4 separate regions of the Homo sapiens genome follow, and all the other regions are linked to region 2. Evidence: promoter capture Hi-C in human tissues and cell types (Jung and others, 2019). All regions are on one chromosome and are shown on one strand. The core of a region is centred on a gene start or on the middle of the fragment in contact, and the rest is flanking DNA. Distances in the headings are between cores, read along the strand shown. Region 1 holds the start of ZRANB1 (zinc finger RANBP2-type containing 1). Region 2 holds the start of CTBP2 (C-terminal binding protein 2). Region 3 has its middle 180 kb from the start of CTBP2. Region 4 has its middle 160 kb from the start of CTBP2.

Region 1 (3,026 bases), core at 139-2,638, 220 kb before region 2:
GGAGGTCGAGGTGGGTGGATCACGAGGTCAGGAGTTCATCAAGAGAAGCCCGGCCAAGATGCTGAAACCCTATCTCTACTAAAAATACAAAAATTAGCCGGGCATGGTGGCATGCACCTGTAATCTCGGCTACTTGGGAGGCTGAGGCAGGAGAATCGCTTGAACCTGGGAGGTGGAGGTTGCAGTGAGCTTAGATTGCACCACTCCACTGCATTCCAGCCTGGGCAAAACATAGCAAGACTCCATCTCAAAAAAACAAAAATGAAAACAACAACAACAAAAAAACAAACAAACAAAAGATTTAACCCTCTAGGTTCAGGAAAAATCCCTGAGAAAGAGAGAGCAAAGCTTCTATACTCTGCCTAGGATTTCTTTCTCTTTCCGGGTGAAAAATAGGTGTTGGGATGATACTGAGTTGATAAAAGTATTTAGGAAAAGTGGCCAGTGTCTAAATTCAAGCCATTAAAAAAAAAAAAATTAAATTTGTTATGTAAGTTGCTTCATTTATGAATTAGTTGCCATTAAATTATGAAGTCTTTCTTCATTATAGTGTAGTGTTAGCCCATTGTTGAATCCTAGAAATCTTTTAAGTAGTGTGAATATCTTTTAAATATGAATTGGATTTTTTGGGGGGCAGGGGATGGAGTCTCACTCTGTCACCCAGGCTAGAGTGCAGTGGTGCGATCTTAGCTCACTGCAACCTCTGCCTGCCGGGTTCAAGCAGTTCTCTGCCTCAGCCTCCTGAGTAGCTGGGATTACAGGCACCTACCACCATGCACGGCTAATTTTTGTATTTTTATAGAGACGGGGCTTTACCATCTTGGCCAGGCTGGTCTTGAACTCCTGACCTTGTGATCTACCCGCCTCAGCCTCCCAAAATGCTGGGATTATAGGCTTGAGCTACTGCCCCCGGCCATGAATTAGATTTTGAGTATATTTTAAATATTCAAAATTTAAAATATTTTAATTATGAACATTCACAATTATATTGGAATGATTATGCTACTGGTTATTTCAGTGACCTTCCACAGATTTAATTTTCCCCAGTACAGTCTTCTTTTTTTTACTCCAGATAGAACTAGATTTTGAGGCTACAGATTATCAAGGAACTACCTATTTCATAATGTTACTTTGTTAATTGTAGCCATTACTTCTCAACATGTTTCTTTACTACCTGTGCTAATTAAGAACAGTGGATAATTAGCATTTTAAGTTGCTTTTCTCCCTTAGCGAGAATGATAAAATAGACGTTGCTTGATCTTCTGAATTCATGAATCATAATCTGTGTTCATAATTTGAGAATGGTTATGTGTTTAAGCTATTTTTTAGTTTGTGTTGTTTCCTCTACCTTTGTCTCTTTAAACTATTGGTTACTTTTCTAAATTGATGTGATGGCCTCCCTGAAATTAAACATTTCTATTAGTGGCTTCCCGTTAATCTCATCCTTCTTAGATCAAACCTCGTTATATCTCCTGCCTATCTCTTTTGCATTCCAAAGTTCAGTTTTATTAAATCCCAGGGTCTAAGATTTTTTCTTTGAGAATTTATCTCCAGTGTTTCTATGGAAATTAAAAAAGAAAATTAGGATAATTCAATGTCGAAATGTTGCATGCATCTTTTGAGAAATTTATATTTTGTAGGTTGAAGGACTTGCTTTTTGGGCAGCGTATTTTTGGAGGTGGAATGTAGTTATTTTAATAACCATGTCCTAATTATTTATAGCTTCCTGCCTGACACAGCTCACTTCAAGAAGTGCACAATGTCAGAACGTGGAATTAAGTGGGCTTGTGAATATTGTACGTATGAAAACTGGCCATCTGCAATCAAGTGTACTATGTGTCGTGCCCAAAGACCTAGTGGAACAATTATTACAGAAGATCCATTTAAAAGTGGTTCAAGTGATGTTGGTAGAGATTGGGATCCTTCCAGCACCGAAGGAGGAAGTAGTCCTTTGATATGTCCAGACTCTAGTGCAAGACCAAGGGTGAAATCTTCGTATAGCATGGAAAATGCAAATAAGTGGTCATGCCACATGTGTACATATTTGAACTGGCCAAGAGCAATCAGATGTACCCAGTGCTTATCCCAACGTAGGACCAGGAGTCCTACAGAATCTCCTCAGTCCTCAGGATCTGGCTCAAGACCAGTTGCTTTTTCTGTTGATCCTTGTGAGGAATACAATGATAGAAATAAACTGAACACTAGGACACAGCACTGGACTTGCTCTGTTTGCACATATGAAAACTGGGCCAAGGCTAAAAGATGTGTTGTTTGTGATCATCCCAGACCTAATAACATTGAAGCAATAGAATTGGCAGAGACTGAAGAGGCTTCTTCAATAATAAATGAGCAAGACAGAGCTCGATGGAGGGGAAGTTGCAGTAGTGGTAATAGCCAAAGGAGATCACCTCCTGCTACGAAGCGGGACTCTGAAGTGAAAATGGATTTTCAGAGGATTGAATTGGCTGGTGCTGTGGGAAGCAAGGAGGAACTTGAAGTAGACTTTAAAAAACTAAAGCAAATTAAAAACAGGATGAAAAAGACTGATTGGCTCTTCCTCAATGCTTGTGTGGGTAAGTTTCTGTATTCTGCATTTTTTGCGTGGGATGGGAAAAGGTAGTAAAAATGATATGAAAAGAGCTGGGTGCGCTGACACACGTTTGTGGTCTTAGCCACTTGCTTGAAACCAGGAGTTTGAGGCTGTAGTATGCCATGATCGGTCTGTGAATAGCACTTGCACTCCAGCTTGGGTAACATAGTGAGACTGTGTCTCCACGCACATGCAAAAATGTGAGTGTGTGTGTGTGTGTGTATATATATATGCGCAAAGTCACTAGCATTTGATTCATTCAGCACGATAGCTGTACTTTCAAGTATGCATACATAAAAATTTGTGTATTTGTGATCTTGTCGTAACTTTGTACTAAATTGCCCACAATTAATTGTGTTCATGTCTCTCCATTACTGGGGGCAGTGGAAACGTTTAAGTTAAAGCAAAGTTTTTACACATCAGCAGTAAAATATAT
Region 2 (3,056 bases), core at 34-2,533:
CCCCACCCGAAAAGTGCGGCCCGGGCGGGGAAGGTGGGGGAGGCGGGCGGGCCGGGCTCCCGGCGGCGGCGGGCGAGGAGGAAGTGGTGCCCGCGGGAGCGCGGCCGGGCAGAGGAAATGCCCGGCCCGCCCGGCCCCCGCCCGCGCCCGCCGCCCGGCCCGCCCAGGCCCCCCGCCCCGCCGCGACTTTGGCGGGCCGAGCCCCGCGCGGCAGTGGCGGCGGCGGCAGCGGCAGCAGATGTGGCCCGGCTGCCCGGAGGAGCCAACAATGCGGGGCCGGCAAAACAAAAGGGTTCCACTTCGCCTCCTTTCCCGTCTTTCACTTGCGCTCCCGGGGAGCCGCGCGGGATCCCCCGCCGGCAGGGGCAGCGCCCCTGGGGACCGAGAGCCGCTCACGCCCCGACTTCCCCACGGAACCCCTCTTCTCCGCGCCCCCCCCACCCTCGCCTCGTAGGCGCAAGGCCCGCCGCACCCCGGCGCGCTCGGACTCCTGTTCCCCGGAGATCCGGCCGTATTGTCCCCGCGGCGCGTCGCGCGCTCGGCCTGGGTCGCCGGCGGCCCCCGGGCGCGCACCCACCGGGCTCAGGGAGCAGGAGCCGGGGGCGCCCAGGGAACCGTCGCCGAGACGCCGCCGCCGCCGCCGCCGCTGCCCTCCGGACGCCGCCGCGCTCGGGGTTTCTTTTTTTTTTTTTTTCAACCCTGATGGGAAGGAAGGTGACCGCCTACTTCGCATTCATCAACTCTCATCACAACAACAAAAATCCTGGCGCAAACGGCGGCCAGCGGGCGCAATCGGTGGCGGGGGCGGGCGGGGACCCCCGAGCCAGCGTCCACCCCCGGGCGCCGAGGGGGGACACGAGGCCGGGGGCACGGACCAAAGATGTCCTCGGATGCCGGCTCCGCGTCCTTCGCCCTCTTCCTCCTCCTCCTCCTCCTCCCTGAGTGGCGCAGTGAGGCGCGGGCGCGGCGCCCCCAGCCCGCGGCCGCAGGTGAGGCGGGGGCGGCGGCGGCCCCAGCCCTCCCCCGGGGCCCCCCTTACCTCGTCCCGGACGGTCGGCGTCCACGGCGAAAGGCGCCCACCCTGGAGGCGGCGGCGGCGGCGTCTCCCGCCCCTCCCACCCCACCCGGCGGCGGTGGCGGTGGCGGCGGCTGTGCGGCCCCCCCTCAGCGCGGCATGGCTCCCGGTTCGGTCCCTCGCTCCTCGGGCCGCCGCCGGCTCCTCCGGGCCGCTCCCGAGCCACCTTAAAATGACACACGCACACAGGGACACACACACAAAAACTTAATCTCTCCAGCTCCCCGCCCCTCCCCCTCCCGCCCTCCCCACCCTCCCTCCGCTCCCCTCCCCTCCCCACCCTACCCCTCCCTTCCCTTCCACCTCCTCCCCTCGCCGCCGAGCCTCTTCCTACTTCCCCACCCACCCCACCCCCTTCCTCCGCCCACCCGGTTCCCAATTCCCCCCGCGTCCCGGCCCCGCGCCCTCCCGCCCGCCGAGAGGGGGCTGCGCTGGGGGTCCCCGGCCCGGGCCCGCCCCGCGCCGCGCTCACCCCCGAGAGGATGCTAATTCCAACTTGGATCGGGGGAGGGAACGTCCTGGATGCCGAGCGCCTCCCGGCTATTTGCTCTTCTTTATTTGTTTTCTCCTCCGGGGAAGGAGAAGGAAAACGGAGAGAAAAGGAAAGGAAAGAAGCGGCGCTGGCCGCAGCTCCCGGTACCCGCTGGCTGCGCAGGAGCTAGGCGGGAGGCGAGGTGAGGGTCGCCGCTCGCTCACTCCTCGCTCCTGTTTTTGGGGGGGGGGGGCAAAGGCGGGGTCTCTTTTTGCAAACCAATGACACAACCCCACATGGGCCGGCCTCGCCCCCTTCAGATACTCCTCACTACAAATCGGCTCTCTCGGGGGATTAGTGGCTCCGCGAAAGTGCACACAAGCGCGGCGGGCGGGAGGGCCAGGGGCCGGGCGCGGCGGGCACTCCCTAGCCCGGCCCCGCCCGGGAGGCCCTCGGGAGGCGCGGGGGCCTCGGTGGCAGGGGCCGAGGTCCTGTCGCGGTGGCTCGGGGTCCGCTGCTCCCCTGGCCCTTCATCCTCCTCCGCCCCTTCCACGTGGGGTACCGGGCAGCCGGCCACGTGGGGGAACGCGAGCCCCGGGTGGCCCCGGTCCCATGGGGCCCCGCCCAGCCAGCGGCGCCAACCAGCCCCCTTCCCGGCCCCCGGGCTCCAACTTCCTCCTGGTGCCCCGCACCGGCCGCTTCTGCCTTCTCAGGCCCGCGGGGTCAGGCGCGGGCCGGCCACAGGGGGCACTTGCGCTCCCCAAATCCAGATCCGGGAGACCGTGCCGGAGAGGCGGCGACCGCTGTGGGTGCGCAGGGAAGGGCCCTCTGTGCTGCAAGTTGCAGCAGTGCTGTGCCCTAAAAGAAGCAAAACATTCTTACACATTGAAAAAAAAAAAAAAGGTTCCCTCTTGCTGCCTGGATCTCGCCGGGGCATTTGAGAAGCCCTGTGTTGGGTCGGAGCCCCGGGTCTCGAGGAGGGAGGCGCGCTGCGGCGTGGGGGCCCGCGACTCGGGGTCCTGGGCTTGCGCGGCGGCCCGGAGCCCACGCCGTCCTGACGTCTCAAGGTTGGAGTCTGCACAGCGAGCCTGGGAATCCAGGCCCAGCGGCCGCTCGCGGCCCAACGAGCACCTGGGCTAAATTCCCCGCCCGTGACCCGCGACGTCCGAGCGCCGTCTCCGGAAGGGAGCTGGTGGCCGTGGAGTGTGGGGTCTTCTCCCTGCGCCCCAGGGCCCCCCAAACTCTTCTCACTACCCTGAGTTCGGCGTGCGTCCTCCAAGAATCCCTGGGTGGGCTGAACTGAGCCCTTAGGATCGATTTGTTTAAAAACCCTATTGAGATATTAGGAGCTGGATTGAGATGTCGAGCAGGAAAGGAGTGGGAGGGGTCTGAGGTCCCGCCTTTGGAGGCCGCAGGGACCGCCATTCCGCGAACCCAGCCGCGCGGTGTGGTCTCCTCCATCCCTGAGTGCCCCGCGCCCTGCAGAGCCGAGGAAACTTACAGCCAGGG
Region 3 (3,132 bases), core at 6-2,505, 180 kb after region 2:
GGGCGTGCCATTCCTGATGTCATAGGATCTCTGCCTGCTACCTAAGCTGCAAATGTGGAGAACTGCTAGCAGGAAAAAAGGGAAATTCTTTTGGGTTAGTCTATGGAGAATATCCACTTGGTATGTCTAGCTGTGGTCTTTTTCACTATCATGCTTTTAATTTGAAGTCTCGCTTCTCCTTTTTGCTCTAGGAATTTTTTCCCTCATTATTTCTTTGGTCTTCATCCTTTCTGCTTTTTCTAGTCTCTCTTTCTAGAACATTTTAAAATGAATATTGGATCTCCTGGATCAACCTTTTCTATTTATTAACTTTTCTCTTGAACATCCTATTTCTCTGCCCTTTTTTCTCTTTATTTCACAAGATTTTCTTGGCATCATCTTCTATCCCTTGTCTTTTTATTCCATTTTTATTTCATTTATTATATTATTTCAGCTCTATTTTGGTTACGTATCTGTAATTCTTGTTCTTTTTTAAAAATTATATCTTTTTCTTATTCTAAAGAAACACTATAATCTCAAATCTCTTGGAGGATATTAGAGGGTGTTTTAAAAAACTCCTTGTCTATTTCTTCAGTTGTCTCTGTTTCTTGCAGAGTCATTTTTGCTGATGTTGTTGTTTATTTATCTTTCTCTTTCGTAGTCCGGATTCTCCTCTCACGTCTGGTATATTTAAAGATAAGAAAATGCAAATGCCTACTTGGGGCCTGAGGCACATTTAGGGCTTGTTGACCTGAAGGCTCAGCATTCACTGGGGTGCAGGGGACCGAGGGCCAACTTCCAGGATGGGTTGGTCCCATGCACCAAGTGAGGAGGCCTCTGTTCTGGGCCAAGAGCGCTCTCACTAGCTGCCTTGGTTCACCCTAGAGTTTTACATAGATTTGTTCAGAGAAGAACTCTAGGTTTTCCTCCTAGGTAATGATGTCTGGCTGACCACAGATGGGCCTGCAGAGAATGGGATGTGTGAGTGTGTATGGGCTGGACCATTCAGAATAGAGGCTTTTAACAAATGCCCAACTTCTCACTGCTGCCCACTGGAGATCTGCAGTTTTCAAGTCTGCAGACTCTGGGGACACTTCTGGGCAGACTGACCTCTTCTGTGCACAACTCCTGTCTAGGATCCACCTGTCTTTGCTCTGTTTCAGCAGCCAGGACTCCCCGATCACCTTTACATCATCTGGAAATTGGTTCAAATCATGTATTCTCTGATGGTTTCCTTTGTTTTATTTTCTTTGGTGTGGGCTCCTACATTTAAAAAATTCCTTTTCCTTTACTCTTATTTTAATGGAGTCTCAGGAGAAAGGAGACAAATGCTAGGAAGCAGTCTGCAATCTTGACCTGGGGGGATAATGTCGAGGTTTTCTTTTAAATTGATTCATTACTCTTTTTTAATTAAAAAAAAATTTTTTTTGAGATAAGGTTGTGCTCTGTCACCCAGGCAGGAGTGCAGTGGCGTGATCATGGCTCATTGCAGCTTCAGTCTCTTTGGCTCAAGAGCTCCTCCCACTTCAGCCTCCTGAGTAGCCGGAACTACAGGTCCATGCCTCCAGTTGGCTAATTTTAAAAAGTTTTTTTGTGGAGATGGGAGTCTCACCACCTTGCCCAGGCCAGTCTCAAACTCCTGGGTTGAGGTGATCCTCCTGCCCTGGCCTCCCAAAGTGTTGGGATTACAGTTGTGAGCCACCACATCCAGCAAACCTTAATTTTTTATTGTAAAATACACCATAAACTTTATCACGTTAATCATTTTAAGCGTATAGTTTAGTAGCATTAAGTGCATTCCCACTGTGTGCAACCAATCTCCAGAGCTCTTTTTATTTTACAAAACTTCAGCTCTATGCCTATTAAATAACAACTCCCTGCTCGCTGCTCCCCTCAGCCCCTGGCAACCATCATTCTACTTTCTATCTGTAGGAATTTACAACTTGAAGTACCTCATGTAAGTGAAACCATACGGAATTTGCCTTTTTGTGGCTGGCTTTTTGGAGAGCATATGGTCCTAAGGTTCATATATGTCACAGCATGGGTCAGAACGTCCTTCCTTTTAAAGGCTGAATAATATTCCATTGTGTGAATAAACCACATTTTGTTCATCCACTTATCCGTGGAGGGAAGCTTGAGGTGCTTCCACCTTCTGGCTATCGTGGGTAATGCTGCTATGAATGTGGATGCCAGTATTGTTGAGTTTTAAAAGGCCTGTAGCATAGGAGACCCCCCAGCCACTAAACCCAAAGCAGATGTATTTGTACGTAAATTTCCCATCGCACTGGAATTAAGATGCTATAGTCACATTGTCTTCCACAAAATACTCTCATGTTTAGAGTTTTACTTGACACACTTCTTCTGGGTCCATTATTATAACCAATGAGGTAGTTAGAGTAGATAGCATTATTTTTGTATCGCAGTGAAAAACTTCGAGCTACAAAGAGGTTAAGTGACTTGCCTAAGCTAATAAGTAGAACAACTAAAAGTACTGAATAATTTTATCAGCCTGAAAGACATTGCTGAACGTGTTTGTTTACATCAACTCTATTGTGGGCTGACTATGGAGACAGGGCCACAGAATGATGATCTCTAATCTAGTAAATTTAATGCAACTTCTCCTAACAGATAAGCCGGGTTGACATGGTAAATTTTATGTGAAAAAGAGAAATCTGTCTGAAGCTCTGGCAGCCAAGATAAGACAGAATAGCAGATATGATTTAACTATTAAAATTACAGAGATTTGTTCCTCTTTATTTTTCGTGGAGGGAATCAAGGTAAATGTTCTTGGGTTGTTGGCAGTATTTCTTCCATTTGTACATTCCTTCTAAACATGAACATTATGTTGTTTATTCATCTGTTAATGACAGCTGATTATCAAACCATAAATATACATGTTGGGTCTAATGGTTTGTGAATGTTAAGCATCAGACAGTAATATCGCGGGTACTTAGAGAAGAACACTACAGCTACATCCCAATCACTATCTAGCTTGTCAATTTCCTGTAGAATTATCTGATTCTTTGTGCTGTCAGCTGAATCATGTGTTAGGCAGAAAGCAGATTTTTTTTCCCATTATTGCTCTTTTTTCCTCCTCATCAGTAAACAGATTTAAAAAAAAAAAGAAGAAGAAGAAAAGAAACACAATTCTCT
Region 4 (3,292 bases), core at 572-3,071, 160 kb after region 2:
CACATTTAACTCGCATGGCCTATCTCCTAGCAAAAAGGGTTTTCTCTTGTGAAACACATTAATATCACTGGGTGAGCTATTAACAAAAACCTTTGCCCAGGCTCTACTCTGGACAAATTAAATCAGAATTTCCAGGTGATTGTAGGATGCCTCCAGGGTTGAGAATCACTGCACTGGTTGGTATATAAGCACAAAATGATTTCACTTTGATGGTCATGATGACCATGAAGTCATGCCCTTTTCTTGACAAATCTGGTGAGTTCTCAAGGAGTATTACTGAAAAATCAAAGCCCATCTGCCTGTCTTCTGATGGCTTCAGTCGTGACTAGAAGATCCTTGAGGAAATGGCTTTGAGTTGAGTTGTTTGTGTGTATACTGGATACTGAATAGCCTAGGCGAGTGGCCCCATGACAATGGGCTGGTGCTTGATATCCTTATTCTAGCCATGCAGATCCTAGAATGAGCAGCTTCTGTAAGGTGAATGAATGCCAACCAGGTGCTTACAGGCAGTGTGCAGAGAATCTTCCTGTTGTTCTACCTAAGTCCTGTCTGGATGGAAGTGGTTGTAAGTCCTGAGAGGTCTTTGTAATTTAGCTACTGTTTCTCTAGAGCTCAGGCAACCAATATTCATGTCCTACCCTCATGCAGGGCTTGGGTTTTGCAGTGAGGCTTTTGCTGCTCCAACTTTTCAGCATCTGACATTCAAGTCCATCCTGATCTTACCAATGATACTTTGCCTTAATGGATTTTGACCATTTTACTCTCAGATTTTTTTTCTTTCTAGACCAGAGAGGCCCCAAACTAGCAGCCTGTCCTCCTCAGTAGCCCCAGCATCCCTTCATCATTTTGTTGCCCTTCTATGGGCCTAGTTTAGGTCTGAGAGGCATAGTTTTAAAATTTTTATTGTTATTTATTTATTCTAGAGATAAGGTCTTGCTATGTTTCCCAGGCTGGTCTTGAACTCCTGGCCTCAAGCAATCCTCCTGCAGCAGCCTCCCAAAGTGCTGGGATTACAGGCATGAGCCACCACGTCTGGTCAGACAGGCATAGTTTTACAAATATGTGGGTGGATAAATGCTGTCCAGTCTTACTTCATCACTTCTATCAATTGAATGCTTTTGGTTGGAAATAACAGAAAATCCAACTAAAAGTGACTTAAACAAAGGAAATGTTATTATCTCATGTACCAGGAATTCTGGAGGTAGACTGGTTCAAGGGTGGATTAATTAAGCAGCTCAGATATTATCAAAGACCCAGGTGCTTTCTATTTTTCCACTGTGTCATAGCCTCATGTTGCCTATTGTTCGCAGGCTTGTCACCTGATGGTACAGATAGGTGTCCCAGCTCCCTGCTTCTTGGGCAGACACAGCAGCGTGAGCAGGAGAGGAAGAGCCCTTTTCTCCTGTGTGTTTCTTTTTATCTGCAAGGAAAATCTTGCTCAGGAGCTTTCCAGAAGTTTCCCCTAATATCTCAGAGGCAGAATTTCATCACATGCCTACCCCCGACTGATCCAATAGCAAGGAGAATGGATGAATAGTTTAGACTAATTAATAGTTAACCTTCTGAACTGTCTGCCTGAAGTACATTGCCATCTTATTTTCAAGAAAATTGGGGTTTGTTAGCAAAGTGAGTGGGAAGTCATAGTTGTAGTGCAAGCAGCGAACCGTGTCTGCAATTCTAAACGTCTCCATCACAGCAGTGCACTTAAGAAACATGCCCATACTGAATTGAATAATGAGAACACATGGACACAGGAAGGGGAACATCACACACCGGGGCCTGTTGTGGGGTGGGGGGAGGTGGGAGGGATAGCATTAGGAGATATACCTAATGTAAATGATGAGTTAATGGGTGCAGCACACCAACATGGCACATGTATACATATGTAACAAACCTGCACGTTGTGCACATGTACCCTAGAACTTAAAGTATAATAAAAAAATAAAAAGGAAACCATAAAAAAAAAAAAAAGAAACATGCCCATACTGATTCCCAGGGAATCAAGAATTAAGCTGTCTCAAGATCTTCGTGTTACACCAGAGATACTGTTGATTCCTTACATTTCCAAAGGTATCTTTATTCGCCCTCACATTTCACTGACAGTTTGGCTATGCATGGACTTCTCGGCTCCAAAACAATTTCTAAGAACTTTAAGACCTTTTCCCACCATCTTCCACGATTTACTGTGTCTGAGTTCAGTCTGACTCTCAAGGTTAACCAGGTAAAATGCTTTTTTCTCTCTGGAACAGTGTGGAATTTCCTCTTTATCTCTAGAGTTCTGAAATGTCACCAAAAATATCTAGGTGTGGACCTTCTTTCACTTGTCCCCTGGGCACTGCTTTCACTTTTATTTACTCTCTTTCCTCTGCTTCTGGAATGCTAACTAAATGAATATTTTACCTTTTGGGTCTATCATACTTATTTCTTTTTTTCTGATTTTCTGTTTGTCTCAGCCATAAATTGTGTAAGTTTTCCTTGGCTAGATCTTGTAGACCAAGGGTCTGTAAACTACAGCCAATGGGGCACATCTGGCCCACTGCCTATTTTTGTATGACCCTTGAGTTAATAATGGATTTTAAATGGTTGACTCTCTCCTGCCATCCATGTTTCTCTGCTGGCCACATGAAGAAGTGCTTGCTTCCCCTTTGCCTTCTGCCACGATTGTAAGTTTCCTGAGGCCTCTCCAGCCATGCCTCCTGTACAGCCTGCAGAACTGTGAGTCAATTAAACCTATTTTCTTTATAAACTTAAAAGAAAAGTTGAAAAAAATAAAAGAAATAATAATGCTTCATGGCAGGTGAAAATTACATGAAATTCAAATTTCATAATTAATCTATAAAGTTTTGTTGAAACACAAGCCATGCCCATTTATTTACATATTGTCTATGTTCGCTCCAAAGGCAAAGTTGAGTAGCTGTCCAGAGACTGTATGACCCACAATGCCTAAAGTATTAACTATCTGGTCCTTTACAGAAAAAGTTTGCTGATCCCTATTCCAGCCTATCAGTCTGAGGTTTAGCCATGCTCATTGTATTATTCCGGTGGTCCACTGAATTTTTTTTGCATAATAACTTTTTTTGAGACAGGGTCTCACTCTGATGCCCAGGCTGGAGTGCAGTGGCATGCTCATGTTGCACTGTAGACTTGACCTTCTGGGCTCAAGTGATCCTCCCACCCCAGTCTCCCTAGTAGCTGTGACTACAGGTGTGAACCACTACGCCTGGCTAATTTTTGTATTTTTTGTAGAGATGGGGTTTTCCAATGTTGCCCAGGCTGGGCCTCAGCCTCCCAA

The links. Contacts are between HindIII fragments. The study calls those that stand out against the background at their distance.
Region 1: a contact is called between the fragment with the promoter of ZRANB1 here and the fragment with the promoter of CTBP2 in region 2, in 1 of the 25 tissues and cell types used here (adrenal gland).
Region 3: a fragment that was not itself captured here is called in contact with the fragment with the promoter of CTBP2 in region 2 in 1 of the 25 tissues and cell types used here (stomach).
Region 4: a contact is called between a fragment that was not itself captured here and the fragment with the promoter of CTBP2 in region 2, in 1 of the 25 tissues and cell types used here (spleen).

What each region holds. Positions count from the first base shown.
Region 1 is chr10:124,940,735-124,943,760 of GRCh38, forward strand. ZRANB1 (zinc finger RANBP2-type containing 1) reads left to right here and starts at 1,389. Exons shown (of 9, transcript NM_017580.3): 1 at 1,389-2,573. The coding sequence starts at 1,760. The HindIII fragment of the contact is 6,128 bases long and covers 1-3,026 here.
Region 2 is chr10:125,159,280-125,162,335 of GRCh38, forward strand. CTBP2 (C-terminal binding protein 2) reads right to left here and starts at 1,284. Exons shown (of 11, transcript NM_001329.4): 1 at 1,040-1,284. RefSeq lists an enhancer at 2,055-2,664. The HindIII fragment of the contact is 19,174 bases long and covers 1-3,056 here.
Region 3 is chr10:125,341,203-125,344,334 of GRCh38, forward strand. No RefSeq gene overlaps it. Among named protein-coding and RNA genes, the nearest start is that of CTBP2, 180 kb to the left of the region's middle. The HindIII fragment of the contact is 7,936 bases long and covers 1-3,132 here.
Region 4 is chr10:125,315,416-125,318,707 of GRCh38, forward strand. No RefSeq gene overlaps it. Among named protein-coding and RNA genes, the nearest start is that of CTBP2, 160 kb to the left of the region's middle. The HindIII fragment of the contact is 4,069 bases long and covers 1-3,292 here.